Linked DNA regions of Homo sapiens: region 2 is linked to region 1. The links are contacts of gene promoters, found by promoter capture Hi-C in blood cells and fetal thymus (Javierre and others, 2016). All regions are on one chromosome and are shown on one strand. Each heading gives the region's core, a stretch centred on a gene start or on the middle of the fragment in contact. The rest is flanking DNA. Distances are from core to core; before and after follow the strand shown. Region 1 holds the start of CTDSP2-AS1 (CTDSP2 antisense RNA 1). Region 2 holds the start of LOC124902948 (a long non-coding RNA gene).

Region 1 (7,229 bases), core at 1,512-4,011:
TGCCTCTCTAGGATGAGCTGGTAAAGGACCAGTCTGGGGTCTAGCCCCTACCCCTTGCCCCAGGTTTTCTTGGGCAGGATGTCAAAGTTGGAAGGGGTAAAACAGCACAAGGCTCTGGGATTCCACTCCAGGGAATCCACCCCCACCCCTGCCTGCACCTGCTCTGACCAGCAGATACCTCTGGGGGATCAAGATGACAATGGGGCAGAGGAGGAAGGAGGGGTTGGAGCCAGGAGCTTTGGTCCAAGACCTGCATTGTTCCTTGGTTAAGGGTGAGGGAACCACAGAGTTCAGAGAGGGATCTGAAACTTGTGTCAAAGAGCCTTTCAATGGCTCCTTTCAGCCAGCACTCAGCATTGTGTCCTTGACAGCCAGGTGCAGGCCATCCCCTACCCATCTGTGTGTGATGGGGAGGGGCACAGCCTGCCTTTCCAGGAGAGGAACACTGGGCACAAGAGGATTTACAGGCCCACAGCGATTTCCTTCTTTAAAAACAGAACAAAAAAACAGAGGCTGGGCATGGTGGCTCATGCCTGTAATCCCAGCACTTTGGGAGGCCGAGGCGGGCGGATCACCTGAGGTTGGCAGTTTGAAACCAGCCTGACCAACATGGAGAAACCCCGTCTCTACTAAAAATACAAAATTAGCCAGGTATGGTGGCACATGCCTATAATCCCAGCTACTCGGGAGGCTGAGGCAGGAGAATCGCTTGAACCCAGGAGGCAGAGGTTATGGTAAGCTAGAGATCATGCCATTGCACTCCAGCCTGGGCAACAAAAGCAAAATTCCATCTCAAAAAAAAAAAAAAAGGAAAAAGAAAGAAACCCTGTCTCTACTAAAAATACAAAATTAGCCAGGCGTGGTGGTGCATGCCTATAATCCCTGCTACTTGGGAAGCTGAGGCAGGAGAATTGCTTGAACCCAGAAGGCGGAGGCTGCGGTGAGCCAAGATCACACCATTGCACTCCAGCCTGGGCAACAAGAGCGAAAATCCGTCTCAAAAAAAAAAAAGGGATGAGGTCTCACTATGTTGCCCAGGCTGGCCTTGAACTCCTGGGCTCAAGCAATCCTCCTGCCTCATCCTCTCAAAGTGCTAGGATTACAGGCATGAGCCACCATGCCTGGCCCCCGTAGGAAATTCATTGCACATGGTTTCCCCAACCAGGGAGGGCAGGACTCCAGCGGATGCCATGTAGCCCAACTACGAGCTGCTCTCCCTCCTTCATTCCCTGCTACCCTCTGCGGACACCCAGCCCTCCTCTTCTGCCCAGATGCAGATGTGCTTCTGCTTTCTCTGCCCCAAACATTTGGTTTGGGGCTAGATGTCTGAGAGGACTAGCACAGACCCAATGAGGGAAGCAGCTCTGGCTTAAGAAGAAAGTGAGCTGGTGGCTGAAGACAGGGAAACCAGGCCAGCCATCCAGCTCACTGCTGCGAGTCTTCCTACTGAGGCGGGGTGTGAGGAGAAGAGGGGATGTGAGGAGTATGCCCCCACTGAGGATCATCAGGGCTGGGGTCCAGGCTCTGCCAGTTACTGACTCAGCCACACAGCCTTTTGGAGCCTTAGTTTCCTCATCCATAAACTGGGATAACAGCAAGCCCTCACTCAGGACTGAAAGGATAAACGAAGTTAGAGAGTAAGGCACTGTGCTAACTCTAAAGCTAAATGCTGCGCTTGTTTTAATTAATTATCCAAGGGGAGATGACCACTAAATGGCAACATCATGGGCCTCATTCCAGGAGGCCAGCAACAGACCAGGAGCCCTCCCACCATCATCACGTGGATGAAGCCCAAGAAGATGAGGGAAAGGTGCCTGAGAGCTCTGATCATGAGCAGGTTTCAGAAAGTCAAAATAGCCCCTATACCTTCTCCCAAGTCCACAACAAAATTTGTTTTCCAGCTCACAAACTCCCTGACTGGGTATTCTGTGAAAAACAAAAGCAAGTAAGACTGTTTCACTTGAGACAAAAATCGCTGTCTCCCCTGGTATTCATCCCCACTACTCTCAAGAAGTACCAGGTAAGGACACTATTTGCCCCTATGCATGGGCCGGGGTAGGTGGCTCAAGCCTGTAATCCCAGCACTTTGGGAAGCTGGGCCGGTTGGATCACTGCAGCTCAGGAGTTCAAGACCAGCCTGAGCAACATGGCAAAATCCTGTTCTACCAAAAAAAAATTAGCCAGGTGCACCTGCAGTCCCAGCTTGGCAGGCTGAAGTGGGAGAATCACCGGAGCCCAGGAGTTTGAGGCTGCGGTAAGCCGTGATTGCACCACTGCACTCCAGCCTGGGTGACAGAGTGAGATTTTGTCTTTAAAAAAAAAAAGTGTACATGTACAAACACGTGAACACGTGCACACATACACACAAACGAAGACCAGAGTGACCAGGGCAACACTGTTTTTAATCTTCTCCTGAAAGTCAGGTCCAGATACCACTTTTGTCAACAACACAGCTTTGTGTCCCAGCAAAGGAACTCCTCACACATCTGCCTGCGATTCAGCAGAAGGTAACCTCTGAGACAATCAGATTTTAACAAGCCCATTCAGGTAGAAAGTTGCTTTCTTTTTTGGTTCATCCCCAGAAGTACTTCCTTCCCCACCACCTCCCATCCCCCACAGCAAAGGACTTAGCCTTAGCCTGGCTATCACTATAAAATGGCCCCTCTGAGGGGCCTCCTTCCTCTCAGCTATTGGAGGAAGGAGAGTATTTGGAGCATTTCCGGCCCTTCTTGGACGGCTGCCTGAACCCTGCAGCCAAGACACATTTGACTGGGACTCCCCCATGGAGAGAAGTCCTCCCAGGTCCTCTGCAAGGGGCATCTGTTCCTTGGCTATGGACATGCCCTAAAGTGCCAGGTGGACGGAAGAGCTCCTGGGACCAGCAGGTGAGTCGGCAGGGAACAAAAGAGGGTGAGATGCCTAGACAGCCCCCACACACAAAAGACTGCAAACAATGGGGAGGGTGTACTGCTTTCATGCCTGGCCACTGACACTGTTCTCTACAGCTAACAAGCAAGGCAGGGCCGGACCCAGCTTAGCACCGGCTCCCGAAGTTCCAAAAAGTAGCTGTGTATCTAACTGCATGGGCATTTTTTGAAAAAAGCAGTTTTAACACTTTGGGGGGCAAAGGCAGTGGGGATCACTTAAGGTCAGAAGTTCGAGACCAGCATGACCAATATGGTGAAACCCCATCTTTACTAAAAATGCAAAAATTAGCAGGGTATGGTAGTGAGCTCCTGTAATCCCAGCTACTCCGGAGGCTGAGGCACGAGAATCACTTGAATCCAAGAGGTGGAGGTTGCAGTGAGCCGAGATCACACCATTGCACTCCAGCCTGGGGGACAGAGCAAAACTCTGTCTCAAAATAAATAAATAAATAAATAAAATTTAAAAAATTAAAAAGCAGTTTTAGCCATGCTGTTTGGCCCATACCAGCATGTTGTATGCTGGTGCCCTCTCTGCACCAGCAACTGGGGCAGCTCTACCTAAGCCAGTGTCTCCATTAGTTCCCTTTCCCTGGGCAGGAGAGCTCCCTATATGGCTGTCTCTTCTTTCAGACCTGAGTCCTTAATGCCACCTGTGGGGCGAGGGTCACAGGTCACACACTTTCTTGTCTCTGCCCCTTCAGCAATCTGTTCTCTGACCTCAGCTAGAGAGGTAAGAGGACTCAGTTTTGGGAGCAGGGGATTTCTGGCAGTTCTAAAGCACGCTGATTTCAGAATCAGCCTCTAAAGGAGGTATTGCCAAAACACCCTCCTGGGCAGCTCCAACGTACTTTAAAAACGTGCTGGGTTGGGGTGGGCCTCCATAAGTAGCAGATCCTGGACCAGAGACAGAGGAGGCGTTTCCTCATAGACAAGTCAGCTGCAGGCTCAGCCCTGCAAGCCCCACTCCAGAGGACTCTTGAGGGATGTCAGGAAGTGATCTAATAGCCCACAGGGCAGCAGGGACAAGCCTGAGATGCCATCCAAGAAAACTCAAAGGACTGGATCCTGCCCCTGCCTCAGCAGGAGACCCTGCCCTATGTAGCACCAGCCAGAGCAAAGGTATCATTGTGAGGGATTGGAAACCACACTTGCCTACCTGGAGTTACCCCTCCTTCCCCCTAAGGAGGTGTATAACAAGCCCCTGTGGGAGGGGCTACACACAGACAACCTCTCAGTGAGTGTTTCAAGTTCCTGCCTTAGTGCTGTGCCCTTGACTCCTGGAATGCTTAGATATAGTTGAAGCCTAGGAAGAATCCACTGCTTCTTTCCCTTCCAGGTATGTAGGCCTGCTTTAGGTTGATACAAACGTGAGCTGGAGAAAGCAGTGAGGACACAGGACAAAGCAAGGGTATCTGTTCTGACCAGGGAAAAATACAGTGGTGACACAAGGCACCCAGACTTGAGTTCGAATCTAGGCTCTGCCATGTGTAAGGTATGCAGCCATGGGCCTCAGTTTCTTCATCTGCAAAATGGGAAGACTACCTATTTCTCAGTGTCAGAATTGCAGGGAGCTCAGGGAGTGTCCTGGTCCTAACAAAAGCTTTGTAAGTGTCAACTGCTACTCATTAAGTGCAAAGTACTTTCATACTCTTACCTCAGTCTCCATCTCAAAATGTTCACATTAAAGGGACCATAGAGATTTCTTCTAACTCATTTCAGAGGTAGTAACAGGGCCAAACCGGAAATGATGTTTTCCGGGACTCCACAAAAACGAATCAGTCGCACACACACATACACACTCATTGAGGCTGGCCAACCAGTTCCTCCTTCATATGGCTGGCCTCTGCAGAAGGAATGGAAGGAGTCTGCCAGGGAGGCACCCATCTCCAGGGACATTCTGCTGCTCCCCCCACACCCCTCAGCTTCACCTATGACCAGCCAAGCCGTATAGGTGAGTCCACTTGAGAAAGTACTGATCTAGAAGTCAGGAAACCCAGCTCTTGCTCCAGTTCAGCTTTTCAACAGTTCCGTGGCCTTGCTAGGGCACAATTCTCTGGGGTTCAGTTTCCTCATAAGCCAATCTGGAAAGGTTTCCCCTGCATGGTCCCTTAAAAGGTGGCTTCACCTGAAGCATGCACCTGAATCATGAACTCAAAAGCACTCTAAAAGGTGAAATGTTAGGCCGGGCACGGTGGCTCAAGCCTGTAATCCCAGCACTTTGGGAGGCCAAGGCGGGCGGATCATGAGGTCAGGAGATCAAGACCATCCTGGCTAACACAGTGAAACCGCGTCTCTACTAAAAATACAAAAAATTAGCCGGGCGTGGTGGCGGGCGCCTGTAGTCCCAGCTACTCAGGAGGCTGAGCCAGGAGAATGGCATAGACCCAGGAGGTGGAGCTTGCAGTGAGCTGAGATCGAGATCGCGCCACTGCACTCCAGCCTGGGCGACAGAGCAAGACTCCATCTCAAAAAAAAAAGTGAAATGCCAGACAATGCAAATGTCTGGCTGACACTAGCCATGTACCCTTGGGCAAAGTCCTTCCCTCTCCCTGTGAAAGTTTTCCTTATCTGTAAAGTGAGGTTAATTCCTCTTATTGGAAAGGAAAAGTTGTCAGGAGAACTAAGTGAGATACGAGATATAAAATGCTAGGAATAGTACCTTGCCTATGGCAAGTACTCTATAAATATTGGCTGTAACCATTACTGGGTAAACAAGGATGGATCATTACTCTGTCCATTTACTCTGAAAACTTTAGGACTCCCCTTGAAGAGCCACAGATCTTTAACATACAGTAAAACGGGACCACCAAGAGGAATTTTCCTGCTCGGGGCAAAACAGGCAGTTGGGGCCACTGCTGTGCCTACCTGGCTCTTCTCCAGGGGCACCTGTCAGAGCCACAAGGAGCATTTGGAACACATGCATGCCTGACCCACCTGCCCATGCGCTGATTCAGCAGATCCCAGGTGGGGGGTCTGTATTTTTAGCAAGTGTCACAGGAGACTCTGATGTGTGTCCCTGGCTGAGAGCCAGTATCTACCGGTTGCCAGGGTCTCTGACTAACCCAGGGCTAGAAGGCAATTCAGCCAAAGTCCCCTTGGCCCCTCTCCCCACCGTACCTGACTGGCTCAGTGTTTCTGCAAGCCTTAGAGGACTCATGCCTAGGATCCAGTTTTCTTCTCTAGGGGTAGTTCTATGTGACGTGAGTCAGAAAACCTGGGTCTGCTGTCTCTACCTGCAGGCCCCTGTTCCTGTGAAAGAGGGGTCCTAGCTCTATTCTGCTGCGGGAACAGAAAAGCTGGGATCTACTATCCAGGAAGCCTTCCGCAGGCAATTTGAGCCTTTCCATGAGTCTGCTTGGCTCTCACTGGGATTGGGGCCATATTTGTTCCCTGGGAACAATGCAGATGGGAAAGTGCAAATTCAAGAGGATGGAAAAAGCTGTGGCAAGAAATAAAAGAAGGTATAGAATAAAAAGAGAGTAAGAGCAAAGTCTGATTTGGGGGGATGGGGGTGGGGGAAGGACTAGAGCACCTAGGAGGGAAATGGAAATGTCAGATCCACTCAGAGATCAGGTTCAAGGCTAACTCCTAGAATAGCTAACATAAAACAGGGCATACACACTTTTGCCTAGAGGGAGGCTGTGGCGCTCACTGGAGTACCCTGTGATAACAGATCCTGGTGCAGGCATACTCAGACCTGAAGGGCTGGGCATTTTGCCAGACAAAGAAACTCCATTCTATTTGGTCTCTGGTCCAGAGATGCTTCCAGTTTTAAGTCGTCAACTTATCCACTTTAATTTCTAGTACTTTCTTTGTAAGATTTGCGTGTTAATGTGCTCATCTGCATCCCAGTTCAGAACTACTACTCCATTTCAGAAAAGTGAGGGAAATATGTCAGGGCCACACCCAATCCCACGTCCCAAAGACAAGCGAGTTAATTCCATGCTTCCCAGAGCTGGCCAGACTAAGACAAGATGAAAAGCAGATCAATGCTGCTTTTGTACTTTCTCAATGTTGTACCCCAAAACCACAGGAGCAAACAAATAGCTTAAGAACATCTATTTCTCTTCAAACCCCATTTTCTTTTTCCCCCTCTTATTAAAATTACCTAAAAGAAACCTCAATCTCTCTGAATTCATTAACTCTCAAAGCAGACAGTGAGAGAATGTAGCATACAGTTGTCCTGAATATTCGTTATATCCATATTTGAGAACCTCTAAGGAAGTTTAGACTTTAGAGACTCACAGGGGGCACATGCCTGGCCTTCTCCCACCCCCAGATGCCCAGGCACCAGACAGAATG
Region 2 (7,229 bases), core at 3,474-5,973, 41 kb after region 1:
GGGGCCTCCGTACTCATTAGTCTTGGGGATCTTTTTTTTTTTTTTTTTTTTTTTTAGACAGAGTCTTGCCCTGTCGCCCAGGCTGGAGTGCAGTGGCGCCATCTGGGCTCAGTGCAAGCTCTGCATCCCGGGTTCATGACATTCTCCTGCCTCAGCCTCCCAAGTAGCTGGAACTACAGGCACCCACCACCACACCCGGCTAATTTTTTGTATTTTTAGTAGAGACGGGGTTTCACCGTAGCCAGGATGGTCTCTATCTCCTGATCTCATGATTCGCCCGCCTCGGCCTCCCAAAGTGCTGGGATTATAGACGTGAGCCACCGCGCCCGGCCAGTCTTGGGAATCTTGATGGTTTGGAGATGGAACCAGGACCTGGCTTGATATCAATGCCCAGCATGCCCAGCTTCAGGGAATGAAGCATGGTTGGTCTAGGCGAATCCTAATAATCCCTTTCCCTGGTGGCTATAATTAGTTTAGACATCGGAACACAAACCAGTTTTGGACGATGAAATGTAAAGGGAAAGTCTCGTTCCCTCCTAGGAAAACAGAAACAGGTGAGAAATGCAGCTAGTCTATTCTAGTTTGGATTTCCTGGATTGCAAAGCCTGAGACAGATTAAAATGCTAATTGTTTATGTGGTAAGGGATTCTAGGGAGCAGGGTAAAGGGAGGAGGGAGAAGGGAGTGGGGAGAATGAAACAGGAAAGGAAGACAAGCCAACCAAGGGCGTACTTTTGAGCTTATTATTATAATTGTCCCTCCAAATGGCAGGAGGCTGGGGCATTTGTCCAGAGACTTTCATTGGTTGCCAGTTGCCCCTCATTTTACTAAAACTGAATGTTTCCTGTGACTTCCTAGTGACAAGAATCCATTGGGTACGTTTCATCTTGGCCTGCTCTGTCCACCACTTCCTCTTTTTGAACTCTCTCTATCCTGGTTTCTACGGCAGTTCTCCCTCCAGCGCTTGTCCGGCCTCTCTGGCTGCTTCTTGGTTTCCTTCCCAGGCTCCTTTTCCTTTTTCCGCTCTGTGGCTGATCTCCTGGATTCTATTCTGGTTTTCCTCACTTCTACCCACTCTTACTGGGCAAACCGTTTTGCGAAATGGTTTCCACTGTTACTGTTGTGATGATGCCAGCTCCTATGTCTATGCCCCCAGCTCTCCCTCCCAAGTCCTGTAGGCATATAGCTCTTCATCCACACAACACATATTCATTAAGCTATTTGAATATGCCCAGAGTTGTGATAGGGCAGTAAATAGGAACTCACCTTCTAGGAGTGCTAGCCAATATGGAGCTAGTGGCCAAAATCCAAGTAAACAAGTAAGTAAGCCAGATATTTTTAGATAGTGACAGGTTTTATGCAGACAATAAAACAGGTCAGTGTGATAGAGGGTGTATGTGTGTGTGTGCATGCACACTATTTTAGAATGACTGCTTTGAGGAGGTAACATTTGAGCAGAGATCATTTAGTGGTATCTGTCATTTGTGGTTATGCAAGTGCAAAGGTCGTAGAGGCATGGAGGACTTATCAATGTGTTTGGGGAAGAGGAGGAAGACCAGTGTGGCTGGAGCAATGTAGGCACAAGGGAGTGATGGGAGATAAAGTCAGAAAAATAGTAGGGGCTCATTCAAGTAGGGCAAGGTGAGCATGCATTGAACAAGATCCCCAGGTGACACTTATGTAAGCTTCTGCACACATTTGAAAACCATTAGGTAGATGAAGAAGAAATGAGAAGAGAAACCCCATTTAAAAGTTCTTCTTCTTCTTTTTTTTTTTGGAGACAGAGCCTCACTCTGTTGCCCAGGCTGGAGTGCAGTGGCACAATCTCGGCTCACTGCAACCTCCGCCTCCCGAGTTCAAGTGATTCTCCTGCCTCAGCCTCCCAAGTAGCTGGGATTACAGGCATGCGCCACCACGCCTGGGTAATTTTTGTATTTTTAGTAGAGACAGGGTTTCACCATGTTGGCCAGGCTGATCTCGAACTCCTGACCTCAGGTGATCGAACTCCTGCCTCGGCTTCCCAAAGTGCTGGGATTACAGTCATGAGCCACCACGCCTGGCCTAAAAGTTATTCTTTAAAAGCATTTTGGAGGCCTGGTGTGGTGGCTCATGCCTGTAATCCTAGCACTTTGGGAAGCCAAGGTGGGTGGATCACCTGAGGTCAGGAGTTTGAGACCAGCCTGGCCAACATGTTGAAACCCTGTCTCTACTAAAAATACAAAAAAATTAGCCAGGCGTGGTGGTGAGTGCCTGTAATCCCAGCTACTCGGGAGGCTGAGGCAGGAGAATCGCTTGAACCCAGGAGGCAGAGGTTGCGTGAGGGAGATTGCACCACTGCACTCCAGCCTGGGCAGCAAGAGCGAGACTCTGTCTCAAAAAAAACAAAGAACAAAAAACAAAAAACAAAAACAAAAAGTATCTTGGAAAGAGTAAGACACACAAAAGTATAACATTCTATCACAACCTCCTATGTACCCATCACCCAGCCTCAACACTAGCAACTTTATTTTACAAAGGAAACTGAAAGTAGTAGCCAGGAATGTAGGAGGAAGACCAGGGTAGGATTGTGTCAGTGAAGCATGTCAAAGAGAGAGATCAACAGTGACAAATAAAGGGAAAATGTTCTGTAGGTTGAGCAGAGGTCAAATCCCTGCCAACATCATGGCCCTGTGTTGTCCCATGGGCTTCTCACAGTACAGGTGGCTGTTAAGGTGCCAGCTGCCCCTCAACCTGCTTCTCCTCTTATTTTCTCTGTCGAAGAGTCTTCAATGGTTTCTGTTTGGGATGAAAGCAGGGACTGAGACTTGGACTTGTGCTCAGGGAGTTTATTTTGGAGACGATCCTGGGAAGCAGGGTGCGAGAGCAAAAAGAGTGAGGCAGGGAAGAAGGAAAAGTCACAAAGAGTATGTTATTGAGCTGGTTACCACTGTGAGCAAATGAAGCTCGATCTGGCTGGGCCCATAAGGAACTGAGTAGAGTGCATCTCAGATTGGCCCCCAGCAGCATAGGAGGCCAGGGCACTTATTCAATGGTCTCTCACACCCCATTTCTTGAGCGCTGTGCTGGGGATATTAACCTCCCTGCATTTTTCTGGGCTGCCCAAGGCAGAAAGCCAGCCAAGGCAGAAAGACAGCCATGTGGACTGTCTGCCACAGCTGCACCCGAATCTGAGCAGGGAGAGAGGGTATAGAGTACAGGACACCTAAAGTTGTCTGCTGCAGCTCCATCACGGCTTGATAGGATCTAACCTCCTTCTCATGACACCAGTGTCATTAACCTATTAACCAGGCCAGCAACATGGGAGTTATTCTAAATGTTTCCCTTATCACCCTGTCTCCCTCGTTTGTCTCTGCAGCCACGCTTTTAGTTCAGGTGGTCATTTCTTGAGGACCATGGTAATGATCTCCTTATCTTTTATTAAATGCCAATGACACTAAAAAATGATATATATATAAGAAATTGGAGGCTGGGTGCAGTAGCTCACGCCTGTAATCCCAACACTTTGGGAGGCCGAGGCAGGTGGATCACCTGAGGTCAGGAGTTCGAGACCAGGCTGGCCAACATGGCAAACCCTGTCTGTACTAAAAATACAAAAAAAAAAAAAAATTAGCTGGGCATGGTGACACGTGCCTGTAATCCCAGCTACTTGGGAGGCTGAGGCAGGAGAATTGCTTGAACCTGGGAGGCAGAGGTTGCAGTGAGCTGAGATCATGTCATTGCACTCCAGCCTGGGCGACAGAGTGAAACTCTGTCAAAAAAAAAAAAAAAAAATTAGAGGTGATGTGGAGTCTGTGGAGGGGTACATGACTCAGTACTAGGGACTCAGAGAAAGCTTCCAGGAAGAAGTGACTTTTAAACTAAAATCTGAGGACTGAGTAGGAATTAGCCAAAGAAGTATGATGAAAATTCAGTTACAGGGAAGACCATGTGTGAAAGCTCAAAAAGGGCATGGCAAATTTAAGACACTAAAAAGGGTTAGTTTATCTGAAGTGTGATGGAGGAAGAAAAGAGAGATTGGCCAGATCATACAGGACCCTGCCAACCGTATGAACAAATATTGACTTTATTCAAAAGGCAATGGGAAGCCTGAAGATTTAAGACAGGAGGGTGATGGGATTGAATCTGAGTTTTAGTAAGATCACTTTGACTAAAGTATGGGAAAAAATTAGTAGATCACACTCATTTTTGGCTATTTGGCTACAAACCCCTTGTTGGGTGCCTCGCCAGTGTCTGTTCCCTGCCTGCTGCCATAGTCATGGTTTTCCTTTAGAGGATTTCACATCTTCAACCATGTGATTTGGGTGTGATGAGCTCTTCTTCCCAACCATTGCTAAGTTAATTAGTGCACTGACCACAGTGGCTGGTTCAGGGATGGGCACTTGATCCATTTTAAGTGAGTGAGAGAATGTGAGTCTCAGGACTTTTATAGCAGCTACTAGTATGAAGATGTAAGGTGTGAATTGCTATAGCCATGCCATGACTGTTATGGGAAAATCTGGAGCTGTTGGAAGACCACTATATGAAACATGATGATGCCATGAAAGGCAGAGAGAGAAGGGGGGGAACTGACTTCATGGTAACGTTGTATGAACTTTTGGATCAAGCCTTATTTACTTTTTACTTTTTTTTTTTGAGATAGGGTCTTACTCTGTTGCCCAGTCTGGACTGCAGTGGTGTGATTACAGTCACTGCAGCCTTGACCTCAAAGGCTCAAGTGATCCTCCCTCCTCAGCCTCCTGAGTAGCTGGGGCCACAGATGCATGTCACTGTGCCCAGCTAATTAAAATTTTTTTTGTAGAGACGGGGTCTCGCTATGTTGCTCAGGCTGGTCTCAAACTCCTGGGCTCAAGCAATCTGTCTACCTTGGCCTCCCAAATTGCTGGGATTATTGGCATGACCACCACGCCTGGCCTCAAGCCTTATTTAAAGCCACCTCTTCCTCTGGACTTCACAGTAAATTGAGCCAATAAATTCTCCATATTGTTTAAACCAGTTGAATTGGAGATTGGTTTACTGCAACCTAAAGATTCCTAACTGATACAGAAATGAGTTCCATAAGGTGTTTCAAGAGACAGGCCCTAAAAATGGGATTGTCCAACCAAAGAAGTAAGATGAAGGATAAAGAACCCCTACATTTTCGGCTGAGAAATTGGCCATCTAATTAGCTATACAGTTTCCTGTTGTGACTTGGGGTGCAGATTACACAATCTGCGGCTGTAGCGGTACACTACTTAGTAGAAAAATGTAGAGTGTTGGATTGGGTTGGCTCCTTCTTGTTAATATTAATAAAGTACTGTAAAAAGGTAAGTTGCTGGCCTGGTGCAGTGGCTCACGCCTGTAATCCCAGCACTTTGGGAGACCAAGGTGGGCGGATCACGAGGTCAGGAGTTCGAGGCCAGCCTGATCAGCATGGTGAAACCCCGTCTCTACGAAAAATACAAAAATTAGCCCAGCATGGTGGTGCACACCTGTAATCCCAGCTACTCGGGAGGCTGAGGCAGGAGAATCTCTTGAACCCAGGAGGTGGAGGTTGCAGTGAGCTGAGATCATGCCACTGCCCTCCAGCCTGGGTGACAGAGCGAGACTCCGTCTCAAAAAAAAAAAAAAAAAAAAAGGGTAAGCTTATGTTCAAACTAGCTTACCCCAAAACAGAGAAGGAAGAAAATACAGCTTTGATAAGAGAAGCCCTTTCTGCCTACGGTAAAAAAAAAAAAAAAAAAAAAAAAAAATGGCTGAGAGGACTAGAAAGCCCTGAAAACTTTGTCCCAAGGTATGTTAGTATTAGGTTAGTGCAAAAGTAATTGCGTTTTTTGCCATCGAAAAGAATTGCAAAACTGCAATTACTTTTGCACTAACCTAATGTGAACAGAAACAGGGATGGGGGATTGCATTGTATGGGATATGGGATATGAGATATGGGATATGGGATACAAGATATGGGATATGGGATATGGAACATGGGACATGGGACATGGGATATGGATATGGTCTATGGGATATGAATATGGGCTATGGGACATGGATATGAGGTATGGGATATGGATATAGGCTATGGGATATGGATGTGGGATATGGATATGGGATGTGGGATATGGATATGGGATATGGGATGTGGATGTGGGATATGGATATGGGATATGGGCTATGCCATATGGGATATGGATGTGGGATATGGGATATGGATGTGGAATATGGATATGGGCTATGGGCTATGGATGTGGGATATGGATATGGGCTATGGGCTACGGATGTGGGATATGGGATATGGAATATGGGATATGGATGTGGGATATGGGATATGGGATATTGATGTGGGATATGGATGTGGGATATGGATATGGGCTATGGGCTATGGATGTGGGATATGGATATGGGATATGGATATGGGCTATGGATGTGGGATATGGGATATGGAATATGGGACATGGGATATGGGCTGTGGGATATGAGATATGGGGTATGGATGTGGGATATGGGATATGAGATATGGGCTATGGATGTGGGATATGGGCTATGGACTATGGGATATGGATGTGGGCTATAGGATATGGAATATGGGATATAGGATATGGGATATGGTTGATGGCTTATCCCTAGCCCTTTCCCAAGCACCTCCTGCTTTTTATTCCTCCTAAAACAAAGGTGACCATAACTTCCATGACAGATGTAAGTGGGACACAGCCTATTGGCAACGACCAGATTTAGAGTGCCTCCCAGGCAGTTTCTTCAAGTTGTTCAAAGGTACAGTTTGAGACTAAACGTAAGGCTGGGTATTTGGGAAGAGAACTAAGACCTATTTGCTTAGTGAAAGAAATACCCAGGCCAGACTCCAGACTCAAAGACTAGTCTCACAAAGAGCTCTGGTTTTGGCCGGGCGCGGTGGCTCACGCCTGTAATCTCAGCACTTTAGGAGGCGGAGGCGGGCGGATCGCCTGAGGTCGGGAGTTCTAGACCAGACTGACCACCATGGAGAAACCCCATCTCTACTAAAAATACAAAAATTAGCTGGGCTTGGTGGCGCCTACCTGTAATCCCAGCTACTCGAGAGGCTGAGGCAGGAAAATTCCTTGAACCTGGGAGGTGGAGGTTGCAGGGAGCCGAGATCATGCCATTGCACTCCAGCCTGGGCAACAAGAATGAAACTCTGTCTCAAGGGGAGCTCTGGTTTCATATACTAGCTCATAGAATCAACCAGAAGCAAATAAACTTGAAGCCCACAAAGAAACTTCA

What was found. Contacts are between HindIII fragments. The CHiCAGO score rates a contact against its expected background, and 5 or more counts as called.
Region 2: a contact is called between a fragment that was not itself captured here and the fragment with the promoter of CTDSP2-AS1 in region 1, in 5 of 17 cell types (M0 macrophages, M2 macrophages, activated CD4 T cells and 2 more). The highest score is 6.6, in M0 macrophages.

Annotation. Positions count from the first base shown.
Region 1 is chr12:57,834,330-57,841,558 of GRCh38, forward strand. CTDSP2-AS1 (CTDSP2 antisense RNA 1) reads left to right here and starts at 2,762. Exons shown (of 2, transcript NR_188077.1): 1 at 2,762-2,885. The region is part of intron 1 of CTDSP2 (CTD small phosphatase 2); the gene reads right to left. RefSeq lists enhancers at 372-431, 2,992-3,061, 3,651-4,271, 3,852-3,961, 4,022-4,101. The HindIII fragment of the contact is 9,495 bases long and covers 1-4,525 here.
Region 2 is chr12:57,873,387-57,880,615 of GRCh38, forward strand. All of the region lies in intron 1 of LOC283387 (a long non-coding RNA gene), which reads right to left. LOC124902948 (a long non-coding RNA gene) reads left to right here and starts at 455. Exons shown (of 2, transcript XR_007063336.1): 1 at 455-554. RefSeq lists a silencer at 1,340-1,634. The HindIII fragment of the contact is 1,789 bases long and covers 3,830-5,618 here.